Regions from separate parts of the Homo sapiens genome. Here regions 1, 2 and 3 are each linked to region 4. Evidence: promoter capture Hi-C in 16 types of primary human blood cells and fetal thymus (Javierre and others, 2016). All regions are on one chromosome and are shown on one strand. The core of a region is centred on a gene start or on the middle of the fragment in contact, and the rest is flanking DNA. Distances in the headings are between cores, read along the strand shown. Region 1 has its middle 9.1 kb from the start of FHL1. Region 2 has its middle 27 kb from the start of FHL1. Region 3 overlaps FHL1 (four and a half LIM domains 1). Region 4 holds the start of SLC9A6 (solute carrier family 9 member A6).

Region 1 (4,874 bases), core at 732-3,231, 200 kb before region 4:
AGTAGTTGACGCAGAGCTGAGAGAGATATGGACTAGGTTGGATGCGGAAGCAGAGGCTCTACCTAAACAGCTGACACTTAAGGAACAAGAGTGAGTGATTTCAAAGCCCTTGAAGTCAAACAACAAGTTCACCATGCCAGGCAGCAAGTACATGAAACAGAATGACAGGAACACGAAGTCCAGAAAGGAGAACGCAAGGAGAGTCTGCAGCTAGAGGAGCAGAAGCCATCAAAGGACATGTACGTGGAAAGATCACACCCCATTCACCTCACATCCCCACCCTTCTTGCTCATTTCCAATGATAATCAACAAGAACAAACATGGGAAGTAGGTACCTAACTGGTATAAATAAGACCAGATTATCTAAGGTACAGAGAGTGAAACAAGGAGTGATTGTCCTATTGCATTCAATGAAATTCAGGTAAAACGGTTTAGACTGGACCATAACTATTTTTGAAGGCTTCCATGAAAGAAATTTAAGGCTTAACTTTATATGAGATTGGTTGAACAATTAACATGGTTAGTTCCAAGACAAATAGTAGGAAATTTGCCCTGAGATTAGTATATCTATTTTATAATGATTCAAGAGAATATAGTGCAGTGGCTAAGAGCACAGACTGAAGCCAGAATATCTAAATTCGAATCCTGCCTCTATCACTTACTGGTTGTATGACATTGGCAAGTTTCACTTAACTTCTCTGTGACTAAATTTGCCCATCTGTAAAATGGGGATGATAATAGTACCTATGTAAAAGGGTCATTGTGAGAAATACAGCAGTAAATATTTGCAACATTTAGAGCAGTGGCTGGCACACAGTAAGCACTATATATTATTAATTCAACTACACGCTAAAAATGTGGCCGACCCAAGCAGCAGATTCCTACAAATAGAATTTATCAAGTTTACTAATTCACAGGGAATATGTGGAAAAGAGATAAGGGCTCAGGATGTTGGCCAAGAGCCCAGCTGCAAGGACCATGGGCCTGAGAATGACTGGGGCAGCAGAGAGCAAAACTCAAAGTCCTAGGGACTCAGAGGAATTGGCCTCAGCAGCTTGACAGCCCAGTGGAGACAGCTGTGGACTCAACATGGGTCAGGAGGGTTTATGAACAGATGATGGAGACCTGGGGAGAACAAATCTCTGCTCTATTGATCCTCTAATGAAATAAATACCCAATAGGTCTAGGTCACCTGTCCAGTCTTGAGCTGCAGAGGGTCTTCCCTACATCCTCCCTGCCAGGAAAGGGCCCAGTGGCTAATTAGACCTTTTCTGGCTAGAGTCAATAAACTTTCCAACACAACAAATAAGGGTTTACCTTATAAGCACTAATTCATCAGGCAGGCCACCCTTGATTCACATCTCTGAGCTTAAGTTGGCTATAAAGGCCAACAATGAAAAGAGGCTACCTATATGCAGCTCCAGCCAGAATGCAGATTAGCATCATATTATGTGAGTTAATTCTGAATAAATGCCAAGGACATGGATCTAAAAGACCCTATCTCATCAAGCCACTTACAGAAATGACTCTACAGCTCAGGAGATGAGGCTGTTTGTGCCGAGACATAGCTTGGGTGAGTACAGCAATGCCCAAGGTCCCAGGGGTGGCAGAACCAAAATATGCACCATCTACCCGACTCTTGACCAAAAACACGTTGTGGTCAATCCCCCATACCCACCCCAAGATGAACTCCGGCTAAAGCATCTAGAGTTGGGATGACTGTAAGAAGACTATTATCTGACCATTGTGTAGACAGACCATTGCCGTATGTCCATAATGACCCAGCACCTCACATCCCCACCCAAAAGAAACCCCGGACCTCTTAGCTGTCACTCTCCATGCATGAGCAGTTAGTGACTAGGATCAGAGAGGCTATATTTTCAGGTCCACAGATCTCATCCCAGAACCCCAAAGTTAATCTCCTCCTATCATAATAGGCTCCCTAAACCCTGTGCCTCAGCTCACTGCAGGAGAACACAAGGAAGGGAACAGGGGCATATCAGCCTAAGGAGGCAGGGACAGCTCTGGGATGAGCTGTGAGGAGAGAAAGGGCACACTGGTCCAAAAGATTCTCTGAGGCTCCGTACCTCCTCTCCTACTGGCACAGCCTGGGCAAGGCCTGCAGCTACAACATCTCAATTCCAGATAATCACACATTCTTTCTTTAGTTATTTTACCCAAAATTTTATCAATCAGGGCTTCATTTGGGTTAACAATCTTCACTTATAAAATGAAATAATTCCAGGTGAGTGTGAGTGAAGGTAGCTAAAGAACATGAAGTCCTTTGTCATTATAGAGATAATATGTAAAATATTTTAGAATAAAAACATTTCTTAGGTGAAAACTTTTGTTTTATATGTTCACAGTGATTCTTTAAGTTTCCATGTTCATGACTTCAAGTTGTTTTGCTATGTTATTTTATTTATTGAGATATAATTTACATGCCTGTGCTTTGGGAGGCCAAGGCAGAAGGATTGCTTGAAGCCAGGAGTTCAAGACTAGCCTGGGCAACATAGTGAGATCCCCATCTCTAAGTAAAATTTAAAATAATTTATATATCATAAAATTCACCTTTATAAAGTGTACAATTCAGCAGCTTTTAGTATATTCATAATGTATATCAATCATTACCACCATCTGATTCTGCATTTTCATCACCCCCAAAGAAATCCTGGACCTCTTAGCCATCACTCTGCATACCCCACCCCCACCCCGTGGGAACCACTAACCTACTTTCTGTCTTTATGGATGTGCCACTTCTGGCAATGGAATCATACAATATATGGCCTTCTGTGGCTGATTTCTTTCACTTAGCATAATGCTTTCATAAAAATGGAATCACACAATATGCAGCTTTTTGTGGCAGATTTCTTTCCCTTAGTATAATGTTTTCGAGGTTCATTCATGCTATAGCATGCATCAGTACTTCAGTTCTCTTTATGGCTGAATAATAGTCCATTGTACAGATACACCACATATTGTTCAACCATTCATCAGGTAATGGACATTTGGGTTATTTCCACTTTTTAGCCACTATAATACTGCTGTGAACATTCTTTTTTTTGCATGGGTTTATTTCCAAAGATGTATTTTTGAAGAAGTATGAAAGAATACATAGTGAAAAGTATTCTTCCCCCTATCTATCCCCAGACATCTACTTCCCCCTCTCCACTGATAACCAATGATACCAGTGTCTTCTTTATGCTTCTGGAGATACTGGGCTTATAAAAGATAGGCAGCTATATATTTTTTCTTTTTCCTCTTTTAAAAAAAAAAACATAAATAGTGGTATACTATACATACTCCTCTGCACCTTGCTTTTTCTATTAATTCTATTGCTAGTTCTATTTATTTATATTCAGAGAATTTTCCTTGTCAGTACGTAAAGAGCTTCTACTTTTTGAACATGTACATAGTATCCAATTGTAAAGCTATACCACAGTTAGTCTCTTATTGACAAATATTTGTTATCACAATGCTGTAAGAAATCTATCTATCTATCTATCTATCTATCTATCTATCTATCTATATATATATATATATTTTTTTTTTTTTGAGATGGAGTCTCGCTCTGTCGCCCAGGCTGGAGTGCAATGGTGCGATCTCGGCTCACTGCAACCTCTGCCTCCCGGGCTCAAGCGATTCTCCTGCCTCAGCCTCCTGAGTAGCTGGAACTAAAGGTGCGTGCCACCATGCCCAGCTAATTTTTGTACTTTTAGTAGAGAAAAGAGTTTCACCATGTTGGCCAGGCTGCTCTCGAACTCCTGACCCACCCACCTCGGTCTCCCAAAGTGCTGGGTAGTACAGATGTGAGCCACTGCACCCAGCCTTGAAATATATACATTTTTTAAAGATAGGATGAACCAACTAAAAACAGTAGTAAGTTAGTTTAATCAGACTGCTTTCTTCTAACCCCCAAAAGAGATCAGCAGCACTAAAGGAATGGGAGTTTTGATTTACAAGGAAAGGGAGGGAATAAAAGGAAAGAGATGAAAAGATCTGGAGTGGATGAGGGAGCACCCACCAAAGTTTACTGAAATGGCACATTGTTTTTGTTCATGCAGAGAGGATGCCATCTGGAAATCCCATGCCAGCTATATGAAGGTTACCCTCAGCTAATCAGCCACCCAGAGAGGAAGTGGCTTTTGATTCCAAATCCATGCTCTTTGCACCAAAACCCACGATGCCTTGCCAATGAACTAAAAAACAGTAAACTCAGCAAAACGCCGATACTGACAATGCACACAACATATCCTCATGCAGTGCCACACCATGATGGATTAGTGGCAATGGAGATTATACTTCTCAAAATTAAAGAGGCAACTTAGTGTGCATCAAGTCTTCAGGCTGAAAAGTTATAAACTACATATAGTATTTGAGTTTCAAATGTTCATGCTGTCTTCCTTATCTATTTAAAAAAAATGAAAGGTGGCTTCTCAGCTGGGGATTATAATGGAGCAAGCCGAGCTGGGCACAAGCCCTTCTGGACGATTAGACTGGCAACATGTCACTGATGCATACCACCAGGGAAGTGCACAGCTCTGAGTCATAGGTCTGACCTTAAAACTGCATTCTGGGAAAACAAAACACCATCCACGTTCGTTATATAAATCTGTCATGGATTTTTCAACTCTGTCTGCATCAGAGTTTTAAATTAACCCTGTCATTGTTTTTTCCTAAAAGTAGAGGAGTAGCTTGATGTCTCTAGCCTCAAAGGTCAGTCTTTTCTGAAACGGGCACTTGTTTTCTTAAAGGTCACATAACTAATTGAAGCCAGGTGACCCATGTTCTATGACTATTTGTCACCAATTTCCTAACTTAGATTGCACCTCCCTGTCTTTACAGATAAACAAGAAAGAGAAACGTCACCAGCA
Region 2 (4,729 bases), core at 1,953-4,452, 180 kb before region 4:
GATCGCTTGAGGCCAGGAGTTTGAGACCAGCCTAGCCAACATGATGAAACCCTGTCTCTACTAAAATTACAAAAATTAGCCAGGCATGTTGATGTAGAGACGCTTGTAATCCCAGGTATTTGGGAGGCTGAGGCAGGAGAATTGCTTGAACCTGGGAGACGGAGGTTGCACTGAGCCAGATCGCACCACTGCACTTGCACCACTGCACTCCAGCCTGAGCGACAAAGCAAGACTCCATAAAAAAAAATAAATCAATAAAAAATTTAAAAAAATAAAAAAAACAGAATTTAGCAGATTCTATTCAACTGACACACCTGAGAAACTCAGTGCTTTAAAAGAAAACCCAAGGATACCAAGTTTTGGTCAATGTAAAGATGTCACTGGGGTGTGCTTGGTATCATAAAACCACTTGAAATGTGTGCTTGAAAAACTTCGATTTAAATGTTCCACTTTAAGAACACAGCCCTTTTACACATGGTTTCTATCAAAGTTTTCTGCTGATGAAGCTGATTGAATTTGCAGATTGCTATGGAATTACTAAGGGCAAACAATGCATATGCATAGTCAGGTCTCACCTAGCTGGCATTTCCAGCTGATGAGAGGATGTCTTTGTATCTCCTTAAAGAATCTTTATATCTTTCTCTCTCCCTTCTTTATATCTCCTTAAAGAATCTAGCCTCTTCTGTGGGAAAATAAAAATAAGAGCTGGGAAAGGGCACAGAGCTAAAATCTCTGCTCTTTCAATAGGGTTCACCCTTAGAGGAGGGTGACAGAGAGTCACAGCCTCCTACTTGAGCCAAAGCAGTTCAGCTTTGGTTTTCTCTATTGGGGTTAGATCTAAAGATTTGTATTTTTTGAAGATAGGTTTCTATCATTTTTTTTAAGTTTGAAAACAACCATTATAGGTAAAGGCTATGAATGAGAGCTATGGCAGGATTTAGACCCAGAAATGAAGATTCCATCTCCAGCAGCAGAGGGAAGCTGCTGAAAGCTTGTATCACCGAGCTTGCTTCAAGCCCGAGGGCCTTGGAAGGACTTCCGACTACCACCATAATTGATGAAATGGATAAAATTCAGGTTTAGCATTTCTAAAAGTTTGTCCTATGCTTTTTACTCTTTAAGGTTTAATACATTTAGGTATTTGAAGATATATATTTTAAAACCTGGGGAGAATTCTGTAGCAAGTAGACATAACAAAGGCAATTCTTGTCACCTGCTGAGCATGTACCCTAACTGAAATCTAAGTACCTACACTGACCATGTGGCTGCATGCAGGGGTGGGCAGGGTGAAGGTGAAGGCAAAAACGCAGCAACCTTTTGAGGGATGAAATGGCAAAGCCTGACAGGTATGGTGCTGGCAAAGGTTACATTCCCTCTTGTGAGCGCACAGAGACCGGGGCACCAAAAAGGAGGGACCATTACTGTATCGTGCCTGGATGAGCCTTCTCTTAGATTCCTTCATTATTTTCAAAGGTCAATGTCCCTCTCTCAAAGAGAAAATTGAGGAACCCTGAGTCATCACAGAGTATAAACAAGCCACTGTGGCTAAATGAAGAGGACAGAGAACGCTTATCCAGTATAAGCATTCTTACACTGGCTTCCCACAGGTTGTTCTGAACTTGAGGGCAAATCAGAAGAAAATCTCCTGGACCCTATTAATGTCACCGAGCAGAAGCACTCTTTGGCCTTCTATCACCAGATTTTGCAATGCCAGTCCTGCACCTTGGCTCCTTCCACCCAGGGAGAAAGATTCCTAATAGCTGATCAGGTCAGCCTAACCTTCTCGTGGCTGGCAGCAGGAGTCTCCTCTGTCCCATCCCAGCATTTGCTCCATGCAGCTTTCCTGCTCCCTACTGTTCGTGCAACGACATGAGCAGATCTTTACTTTAAAGCAGACATTCAAATAGTTCTGTTGTGCCTGGCAAATTCCCTTTTCATATGCCCAAGTTGAAAGCAAATGAGATTTTCCCTTGAAAAGACATTGCCCCCGAGAGCTAATATTTAGGGTAAGCAGTGACATTGGTTGAGTCAATTAAAATGAACCTTCTGAAACCTCCTGGTACAAATAAAGCCCTTTGTACAATGCCGCCCCTAATACCACAACTTAGAAGGTTGGAGATCAGTGTAAGAATTTGTGGCAATTAGTAAAACTTACCTCACGCTGGATGTGTGGCAGATAGGATGTATTCGGCAAAGGCTGGATATGGTTGAAAACAACTTCCAAGGTGCCTAAGTTAGGGAAAAAAATGAGAATCAAGAGGCAAAGTTACCTTTTTAGAAGCAAAGTTCTGAATTCTAAAAAAATAAAGTCAACTTCCTATGAAATGGCTCATGGTAACACATTCTACTTTGTATTTACAACCCTTAGAGTTAAAGGAAAACTGCCAAGATGTTCTGCATACTTCTCCAAATGTCTGTTTATCATATAACATGAGCACTGGCAGTGGATCTGGCTCCCTCATTATCAAGCCGTATTAGCTCAAACACTCAGCATTGTTAGGGGAGTGAGCTCATGGCCTATTTCAGTTTTAAATTAACATTTGGCAATCACCCGGGTAATCAAAACAAATGACTCAGTCGTTTAGAATAGATTTATTAGTTGAGCCTTTTTTTTTCTCTCTCTCTCTTTTAACATCTTTAGAATATTTTGCCACAGGAGGGCTCTGATCCAGCCAGAATGTAGAGCACAAGTCACTAGAGGAATATTTAGAGGGGTTGCCATGGAGACGAGGTGCCCTGTGACCGCTGAAGTTATCTCCAATCAACAGCAGGATTAGGATGCAGACTAGCGGGCAGGCTCATCCCAGGACGAGGGTTCTGCAGCACTAGGAAACAGGTGTGCCTTGTGCCGTTCCCAACCCTGACACAAATATGGCCCGCTACGACATGCTGCCCTCCTCAAGCCCGTGCGACCTCCCCACAGGCCCATTCGCATCACTGCCTTCCTCCCCCAATCCCTCGACCTTTATTCAGAAAGGACTGGCTGGGGCAAAGGAGAAAGGGAGTGTGATCACTGTATTATCCTAAAAGTGTGAAATCCTAGAATTCACACCAAATGCCGCTTTTAGATCAACTATGAAAATGTACATGAGCGAATGAAATCTGAGGAAAAGACAGTGCCTTGGGCGGGGGACCCAGTCTGTTTTTTCACTACTCTGCCCCAACACCCAGGTCAGTGCCTGTAACACAGGAAGCTCTCAAGAAGTATAGATGGAAACAGGGCAAAAATAAACCAAGGATTACAACCAGGTGTGTAACCACCCCTCCCACCCTATGCTCAAACCATTTCCAGGCTGATCGTCACACAGGCAGTGGATATAAATGGAAAAACTGTTAATGTGCTGGTAAATAAACAGCTGAGACTGTTGGTTCACTAGGCTAATGAGTTCATCTCTTTAGAGATCCTGACGACGATTGTCAGGATCGTTGTCAGGAAGAAAAGGCTGAAGATAATGCTTCCCAACTCAAAATGGATGAATCTGCTGACTATAGGGACAGGGTTCTTGTTTGCCAGGCCAAAAGCCTGGAGGAAGACAAATTTTGTGCCCATGGTGAAGCGCTAACATTTGAAAGCAAATGTTTTAAAGTGACTTAATTCAAAGGAACATCTTCCAGTCTTCCTCCCACCTGTACTTAAGTAGAGACAGTATCTTCATATTCTATCATATGAATCTGGATTGTTTCATGTTAGGTTTTCTTTGTCCGGTAAAATGTTAAGTATCTTGGTGTCAGGAAGAAATATTTCTTATTTCATTTCTATCTCCTAGTATTTAGCATGGTATGTTTACACCAAAGGCTTTACTCCATCTCATCTCCCACCACCACACTCCACTCATATAGAACTCACTGCTTCTAGAAGATTCCACACCCTTTCGTGCAGCTACAGGAGGAATGCAGCAGGGCACAGCTCTTCACAGCAGGGGCACCAGAGTCAGACTGCCTGAGCTCAAATACCGGCTCCGCCTCATATTAGCTGTCCAGCCTCTATGAGCATCATAATGGCCACCTACCTCATAGAGGTAAGGACGTACGTCCATGTAAAGCATTTAGCAGGGCCTCCCCCACACAAGGTACCCATTGAATGTTAAATACATACTTACTACTATTATTACAGCAGGCAAAAAGTCAAACTGTTATCAAACGTGGATAATGATTTCACATGCCACCACAAACGCCTGATACCAAATATACCTCTCTTTCGATTCAATCCAACTGAAGCGTCAAACCTGAATCTGTCACACACTAGTCTTATCATATTTCATCTAATTCACCCTTCTGGAATTGATGTTTCCTAGAGATGGGTACAATTCATACCGATTCTACTTGACGGAATCCGGTTCTCTTTTTCAAGAACCGGAATCACTTCCTTCCTAAGATTCCCACCTTGCCAATAGCTTCCCTGCCATCTCTCTGTCTGTTCCTCACCTCTGCACATTCCAGCTTGGAAGGGCTACAGGTGGGGAAAGGACAGGGAAAGTGTCTTCTAGTAACCAGACTGGGACTCTGGCTATTCTTTCCAGAAAACATTTTCATATTCTATCATATGAATCTGGACTGGTTCATGTTAGGTTTTGTTAGTCCTGTAAGATGTTAAATATCTTGGTGGCAGGGGCAAAGAAATGTCTTATTTTGGCTGGGTGTGGTGGCTGGCACCTGTAATCCCAGCACTTTGGGAGGCTGCGGTGGGTGGATCACGAGGTCATGAGATCAAGACCATCCTGGCCAACAT
Region 3 (2,746 bases), core at 1-2,500, 220 kb before region 4:
CCACCACACTGGAGCCTTTACCAAACCCTGGGGGGAAAAAAAAAGAAAAGAAAAGAAAACAAGAGAAACAGCTGAATGAATACAGGTGAGGAAACCACGATTCAGAGAGATAAAATGACGACCTGCCCCACTCACAGACCGACAAGCACGCAAGAGCCAGGTCTGCCTGGCTCCCAGACCCCCTCCTCCACTCCATCGTGCACAGTCCCCCACGCCGCCATTGTCCCCCATGCCGCCGCAACCCTGCTGTGGCTCTCAAGGACCTGAGAAGATGCTGAAGCCCGGCCAAGGGCTTCCCTGATGTAAAGACCCCACGTTCCCATGCCACCACGCTATTGCCCTGTGACGCGCACCGACCTCCCAGCATAACCAGTTTCTTTGATTTAGGTCAGGGCCATGACATCAAAGTGGCCACCAGGAGGCAAACTTGGGCTGTTCGTGGGGTGTGCACTTACCGGGCCTCGAGGAGCTGCTAAGCTTCGATTTTTTCTATAAAGAACCACCACCCACGAGGGACAAGTCCTCTCTCCACCCGGATGCCTGCCCCGGAGGTTGGCGCTGGGAAACAGGGTGAGAGGCAAGCGTTTCCCGTGGCACACTGGGGGCTTCCTAGCTTTAGAGACTGGGTGGCTCACTCTTGACACAGTCCTTTTCCCTGAGGATGGCAAAAGTCTTCTCAAATGTACATTTCAAGGCTCCCCGGGAAGATGGGAAAATTGGAGGCAAGGGAAAGGGCCCAGGGCACGTGGATCGCGGCCGCGAGATGAGGAATGAAGTGATTAGCTTTGCTGATCGCAAAAACAAATAAACAGCAAACCAAAAAAAAAAGAAACCCTGCCAACAGGCATCTCTGAACTAGCCTTCAGCTATGGGGTATTACAATCCCGGGTTATCACTCTTCGGCCTCCCTTACCCCTTCCCCACCCTCCCCCACCCCCTTCTTTCTACCCTCCTCCCACCCCTCCCCCCAGAATCCCCCTGCAAAGTGGCAGTGCCTGCCGGTGTTGGCTGGCAGGTCTCAGGCTTGTGAACTCTCAGCATTGTTAGTCAACAGTCAGGAAGTGTTCTGTATTGCAAAGGCTAACCTGGCCTGGGGACGAATCCAAACTCTTGGGGGGCCTTTGGGACCACAATAGCAGGGGGAGAAGGGCATTCTCTGGGGGCCTTTGTGGATGAAACCGACGACAGGAAAATGAGAGATGGTTACCATGCGCAAAACCTAGCCTGGCAGACTTAGCAAGGACTCTTTAGCCTACCAGTGATGGGGTTCTTGCATCCAGCACACTTCTTGGCCACAAAGTTCTTGTAGCAATCCACGCAGTAATACTGGTCCTCCACAGCGGTGAAACGCTGCCCAGCCAGCTTCTTAGAGCAGGTAACACACACAAAGCAATCGGCATGCCAGGGCTGATCCTGGTAAGTGATTCCTCCAGATGTGATGGCCTAGACCAGGGAGTGTAGCACCGGATTCAGATTCAACAACCATTTTGTTGAATGCCTACTGCGTGCCAGGCACTGTGCTGGGCGCTTTGGTATACAATATCTCATTTAATCTCCACAACAGCCATGGGAGGCAGGGGCTATTATTATCCCCACTTTACAGATGAAGACACCAAGGCTCGGAGAAGGTGAGCCCCTATGTGAGGTTACACAGCCCCTAAGTGGTGGAGGCAGGCTTCTAGAGCCAGGGCTGCCCAGCTCAGCATGCCATACGGGCCACCCGCACCACCAGGCTGAGGATGCGTACTGACAGCCTGACTTGGCTGTGGCACTGCTTCCTAATCCACGATCTCCTCATCTGTAAAACGGGAATAATAATTCCTACGTCACAGGGCTGTCGTGAGGATGGAATGGGATAGTGTGTGTGGAAGTGCTCTGCAAACTGTCAAACACTTCTAGAAACAACGGTCAATGCAGAACTCCCTTGAAAGCATACCTTGTTGCACTTCACGCAATGCTTGGCAAACTTGGTCTCATGGCAAGTCACGCAGTAGAAGTCCTCCCCTTTAGGGAAGAAGCTTCCAGTCCCGATGACTTGCTTGCAGTTACTACAGGTGAAGCAGTCTTTGTGCCAGACGGTCCCCTTGTACTCCACGTTTTGATCTCCTGCAGAGGGAAGCAATTGGATAGCCCCACTGACAGGCTCTGCAGGGGGCTGCATCCACTCAGCTCCCCTCCCCAGGCCCTCCAGAGGTGAGGGGATGCAGGCCCTGCAGTTACTGGCCTCACACCTCCAACTAACCTACCTGTGTTCTACTTGTGCTTGTGCCAACCCAGGATTTCTGTCATGGGTGGGGACCCCAGCATTATTATTTTAGGATCCAGTGCCTGAATCCCCCACTCCCCCACCTCTATACCCTGCGTGCACTTAGACATTAAATCAGGGACTGCCTGGCCCAGAATGACACCCTGAGGAAGAAGCATGCTTTCATCACTTACTACGCCCAAATGAGAAAGCGCTACATACTGTTCACTTCATTCTGTTGCCACAGGCTGTTCTCGCCAGTGTTCTTTAGTCTCCGAGTGTGTGCGTGTGTGCGAGCATATATGTGTACGCATATATACGTGTATGTATATGTGTACATATATATGCTAAGATCTCAAAGCAGCTCAGAGCAACGTTAGCCCCACCATGATAAGCAAGCCCACATCACGTCTGCCCTCAGGGCCTCCTCCCTGGGAACCCGGGGTGGGAAGGAGGCAGTACCTGCCACAATGGCCTTGAAGCACCCCTTGCACTTGGGGG
Region 4 (5,368 bases), core at 1,329-3,828:
AGACTGACCAATTAAAAGAGTTGTTCTGGGCCTAATCTGAGAAAATGCAGTTGTAACAGCAATAATAATAATAATAGCACAGCTATCATTTCTTGGGCATTTACTTAAGGGTCAGTTACTAGTCTAAAAACATTTCTTCCTCACAGTAATCCTACTATCATCATCCCTAACATATAGATGATGGTAAAAGAGAGTAAGGGACTTGTCTAAGATCACACATACCTATGGGCAGAGTGTGACGGGAATCTAGGTCTGATTCTAAAGCAGGGGTTGGCAAACTACAGCCCTTGGTCTGTTTTTGTATGGCCCGAGAGCTAAGAATAGTTTTTATGTTGTAAAACTTTATAAAAAGAAAAAAAAATCAAAGAAAAAAAATGCAACAGCGACAGAGATCTACGTATCCACAAGATCAACAATCATTACTACCTGGCCCTTTACAGAAAAAAAAAAAAATTGCTGACCTCTGGTCTAAAGCCTTGTACCTTTAATTACCACATCATACTATCTCTCTCTATAAAAGAAGTATCTCTGATCAGTTCATTACTTTATAATACTCATTTGGCATTTAACCAAATTTAAGATGCCATTATTTTCTTTATATGACCTGCCTATAAGTGACTTGAAGGCAAAGATCTTATACCTCTTTGTATTTTCTGAGCATAATACATAGAAGGTTTATCAACAAATGTTTGTTGAGGATAGTAAATAAATCACACACTGTTATGCAGAAAATTATATAGAAATATATAGCTTATCTGGCCAATTTGGCTTAAGGTGCACTGCAAATGAAATGCAAAACATATTAAATATAAAAACCATCTAATATGTCTAAAAACTAGGAATCTTAGTGAGCAGAGATATTTTACACGCAGGCTCAGAACTGTATTCTCTTAAAAATGAAAAATAAGCCTGAGTTCATGCATCTTCCTGAGGCACACAACTACCTTTCCTTGCTATCCTTGAGAGATGCACATTACAGAAGTCTGGATTTACTAGGGGGCGGGGGTTTGCATGGAGCAATGTCTTTTGTGCCAAAGCTTCATCTACCTATCTGCAAGTCTGAGAGACAAACCTCAACAAGCTCATCGGTTTAACTGCTCCAAATGAAGATAATCTTCACACATGTACTGCACAGAAAGAATTGTTTGTCCGCCCTCATCTCTTTAGCAATACCCGCACAGATTAATACAGTCGGCAATATGTATCTTTTCTCCTCTTGAGGCCCCAGCACAGCTCAAAATGCCTCTGAGCCCACACTTTGATTTACCCCTTCTCGCCTTGTCACCAAAATAATAATAATAATAATAATAATAAACCTCAGAAAGCAGACTGAGACACAAGAATCGAAGCCATTTATTCTACAATCGGTCAATAACCTCATGCCAACAGCAAGTCACCCATACTGCATATGCATGGTGTTTGTAATTACTGTTTGTCTGAACTGTCCTGATCATCGTATAGTACACTATACTTCTGGAAGGACCTTAACTCTTCCTCGTCCTCACTTTTGTATGCCTGAATTGGAAGGGTCAACCACAGGTATCCATATCAGATATTAGAGGCATAGTACAATAAATGGGATGTCATTAAAAATGCCCTAAGCCTTCTGTAGCCTATTTCACGTTCGGGTTTTTTTTTTCGGACTCCACAAGAATAAGATTTTCCTTTGCAACCTCGAAAGGACAGGGCGTAGCAGGAGCTAGGTGTTGAGTAAAGGTCGACTCTGGCTCCAAAAGAACGCCAGATTCTGGGCAGTAGAGATACTACTGCAGTTTCAATGAACCTTAAACAAACTGACACCCCAGAGAAATGGATCGCAATGGTGTCTCCCCTCCCCCAGCCCCCAGCCCAATTCCAGACACCGCGCCCACTCGTTTTCCATCCTCAGCCCCGGGTCCCGAGCTTGGTAGGCAGGGAAAGGGTGGGGGGCTGGGGGTGCGGAGGAAAAAGGGGGTGGGGTCGGAAGCGAAAAAGGTGTGGAGAGGCAGATAAAATGGGGCGCGAGGCTGAAGAGGAAAGGGGGTGAGGCAGAGAAACGCGGGGTAGGGGGAAGGCGAGGCAGAAAATGGAAGGAATTAGAAGGGGAGCCGAACGTAGGCCGAGCAGGGCCAGCAGAGGAGGCGAAGCAGCCGGCGGGCAGAGAAAGGGGCAGCGCCAAGGGGCTGACAAGGGTTGAGGAACTTGCCATAAATCATAGCCAGGCCGGTTTCGTGCAGGAAGCGGGCCCGGCGGTGCTTGAAGAGCCAGATTGTGAGAATGGTGAGGGTGAGCAGCAGGATGAAGATGAGCAGGTTGGCGCTGTCCTGCCGGTGGCTCTCCTCGGCTTGCTTCTCGGACACGATCTCCTCGTCCATGGCTCTAGCCTCTCCGCCGCCGCCGTCCGAAGCCCCTGCCCAGTCAAAGACGCCCACTGCGAGGAGCAACCAAAGGGGCCGCATGAGCCTGCGGGCTCGGGGACTGCTGCCGACGCCACGGCGGAGGGGTGCCCGCCGCCAGCCGCGCCGAGCCATGTCTCCCCCCGCCTCCCGCCCCTACCTCACCGGCGGCCGCCCGCGGTCGGACCACTCCCCGAGGGCTCACGGGAAAGGGGCGGGGCCCGGGGGTAGCCGTCGGAGCGCGCGCCGCCGCCGCCGCTCTTAAAGGGGCCGCGGCATCCCAAGCTCGCTCTGCCAGGTTCCTTTGCCCCTCTGTCCCAGGTCACACGCACCCACAGGCGCTGCCGGGAATGAAAGGCCGTCTAAACTAGCCCACTGCCTTTGGCTAAAGAAACATCGGCTCAGTGTAACCAAGCAGAGGCAGACTGCGCTTTCTACTTTGATCCTATTCTCAGAGCTCTCAGGGGAATTGATCTTTCATAGGAATTGATCTTTCATAACCCATCTCAATATCGTCCCCCAGTGTCTCTTAACAGGATAAGTTGTCCCCTTGGGAGGAGCCTCAATCTCCATCTCTGTAATTTAAATTTAAATCGGATTCTCCTTGTATTGTCCTCATCGGGAAAGAAAAAAAAAAAAACACAAAAAAACACCACACACACACAGAGCACTGTAGCAGTTCATAAAACAATCGACTCAAAGGTATGGATTATGTGTGTGTCTGTGTAGTCGGTTTTCTTTACATGTAAACATCTGATATAAGTCATCTCTCACGCTAGGAATCTGTACACAGAAACTCATCAACCTTACAGCAAAGATTGGATCGGTTTGTGCTTAGATTTCCCAATGCTCGTAAACACTTCCCTCCCGAAGAAAAAATCTTGGGTGGTGTGGTGGATTTCTCCTTCTCCTCTTGCTCCTTTTTACTGCTGTTTTAAAGCAAATGTCCCCAGCTCCGAAGTCACCCTTGACCCCTATCTCTCATCTCTCCTCTTTAGTATTCCTCAGGACAGTATTTTTTTTCTGTTCTCAGCCTGTCCAACCTCTCTCACCAGAATTTTCACAGTTCTCACCTCCATACTGGAGCTTTGTCTTTTGAGAACAGTGACTTCCTATTTTTTCTGTATTTCTCCGATCGCTCCTTAGTTTGTGTGGGCTCTTTGTTTTCTCAAGACTTTGATTTCAACATGAATGATCTACAAGTCTCAAGCCCTGGCCTGCTGCCCCAACTTCAGGCCTCTACCTGTTGGATTCTGAGCATACCCTGTTGAGGCTCCTACCACCCTCAAAACTAAAAATATTTTGAAATGAGCTCATTTGAAATGAGTTCCCCCTGCAAGTACAAATTCCTTCTCAAATTCTTCATACCATCAGTGGTACCACTGTCAGTTCAATTCCTATCATTCTGCCTGGAACTCATGATTCTCAAATGGTTCTTTCCATCTCATGGCCATATAACCTCCTTGCTAAAACAAGTAATACTCAGGCAACTCCAAGCTGCCCCTGTGTGTATTCACCCTCACTAACCAGCTCTCTAAGCTCTCAGGATGATGAGCTAAACAAAAAAAGCACTCAAACGATGTCCAATTCCACTTTCTGTCCCTGTCAGGTCAGGAACTGTCCCAAATCAGAGCCAGTGACTGTGTGCCCATTCTCTGCTATTAGTACTTGGGTCTGTGTCTTCCCAAGAAACCTCATGGCTGCCTGTTCCCCTATACCCTGACTCCACTTGAACCACACTGTCCTGTTCACACAGAGCTGGGCTTTGTGGAAGCAAGAAACCTAGGTGAGGATCCTTCCCATTCTCCCCATCATCCTCTCCCCAGAAGACCTAGTAAATGAGCTTACCTGCTAACTGCTCATTCCAAGGCTGTTTTGTCCCAGCATAAACCCACTTTTCACTGAGTGTTGGGAACTTGAAAAAAAAAAAAAAAAACCCGAAGCCACAGATTGCTTCCCTGACCAGAGTCAGGAAATGTCTTCAAGCACCAGACTCCACCTCTGTTTATGTGGCCCCAGCAACTTAGTATGCCCCTCAGCAATCTCTTTGTACTCGAGTTCTAGGAGGAATCTTGAAATGGTAGTAACTTCTACCAGGCAGCCAATCCCCCTGAGGCTTCTGCTCCCCCGAGAATGTACTTCTCTCTCCATCCAGCACTGCTCTATACTTCTGACGCCTACACCCGGGTTTCTCCTCTTGCTACTTCCCTCCCTTTCCATGTTAGTCGGTGTGCTCCTTGGAACGTTCTTCCTTGTAAACATACTACTCAACCCTCTCAGTCACTGCATGGATGGCCCCTCCATCTCCTCTCATTACCAGAACCCATGTCTCTCCCAGGATATCACACGCTCTGACGCTATTGCAAGTGGAGGTTGTTCATGTTCATTTGGTCACAGCCCCACTGTCCTGCACACATATACACACGTATACACAACTCACACCCTGCATCAGGTGGCCTGAAGGAGTTGGCACTGTGCTCACTCCCATTGTTTCACATTGTTTCAAACTCATTACCCCTCCACCCTCCATTGAAGCTCTAACACCTTCTCCTTCCCCATGGTCCTCACTTATTGACTTCCTGGTCACTCCTACACATTTGCTGAGTACTAGGGAATCTGTTTCACAGGCTTCCTCTCTCCTCTCACCCCACTCCCCAGGCCTGACATCATCCTGAGTGACTTCACTGCTCATATAGACAACTCACCAGGAATCCAGCCTTGCTTCTTTTGTCACTGAGAAAGTCAAGGCATTCTGGGAAAATCCTACCCTGCTATCTACTTAAATATCCCATCAGTGCCCATCCTTTCTTTCTCCCCCCAGCCACAGTGGAAGAAGTGTTTCCTTCTCCCTTAAGAAGCTAATTGGCCAGGCATGGTGGCTTACGCCTTTGATCTCAGCAATTTGGGAGGCCAAGGCGGGAGAATCACTTGAGCCCAGGAGTTCAAGACCAGCCTGGGCAACATAGTGAAACCCTGTCTCTACAAAATTAACA

What was found. Contacts are between HindIII fragments. The CHiCAGO score rates a contact against its expected background, and 5 or more counts as called.
Region 1: a fragment that was not itself captured here is called in contact with the fragment with the promoter of SLC9A6 in region 4 in 2 of 17 cell types (M2 macrophages and M1 macrophages); the score reaches 5.6 in M2 macrophages.
Region 2: a contact is called between a fragment that was not itself captured here and the fragment with the promoter of SLC9A6 in region 4, in 1 of 17 cell types (M2 macrophages). The highest score is 5.7, in M2 macrophages.
Region 3: a fragment that was not itself captured here is called in contact with the fragment with the promoter of SLC9A6 in region 4 in 5 of 17 cell types (naive CD4 T cells, M1 macrophages, M2 macrophages and 2 more); the score reaches 6.6 in naive CD4 T cells.

What each region holds. Positions count from the first base shown.
Region 1 is chrX:136,185,535-136,190,408 of GRCh38, reverse strand. It overlaps a transcript of FHL1 not described here. Among named protein-coding and RNA genes, the nearest start is that of FHL1, 9.1 kb to the left of the region's middle. The HindIII fragment of the contact is 6,722 bases long and covers 1-4,874 here.
Region 2 is chrX:136,167,407-136,172,135 of GRCh38, reverse strand. It overlaps a transcript of FHL1 not described here. Among named protein-coding and RNA genes, the nearest start is that of FHL1, 27 kb to the left of the region's middle. The HindIII fragment of the contact is 4,417 bases long and covers 994-4,729 here.
Region 3 is chrX:136,207,152-136,209,897 of GRCh38, reverse strand. It overlaps FHL1 (four and a half LIM domains 1), which reads right to left. Exons shown (of 6, transcript NM_001159699.2): 3 at 2,708-2,746; 4 at 1,937-2,106; 5 at 1,257-1,443; 6 at 1-27. Among named protein-coding and RNA genes, the nearest start is that of FHL1, 11 kb to the right of the region's middle. The HindIII fragment of the contact is 1,541 bases long and covers 480-2,020 here.
Region 4 is chrX:135,982,645-135,988,012 of GRCh38, reverse strand. It overlaps SLC9A6 (solute carrier family 9 member A6), which reads right to left and starts at 2,578. Exons shown (of 18, transcript NM_001379110.1): 1 at 2,536-2,578; 2 at 2,186-2,410. The coding sequence starts at 2,354. RefSeq lists an enhancer at 2,178-2,297 and a silencer at 2,448-2,687. The HindIII fragment of the contact is 4,728 bases long and covers 1,040-5,368 here.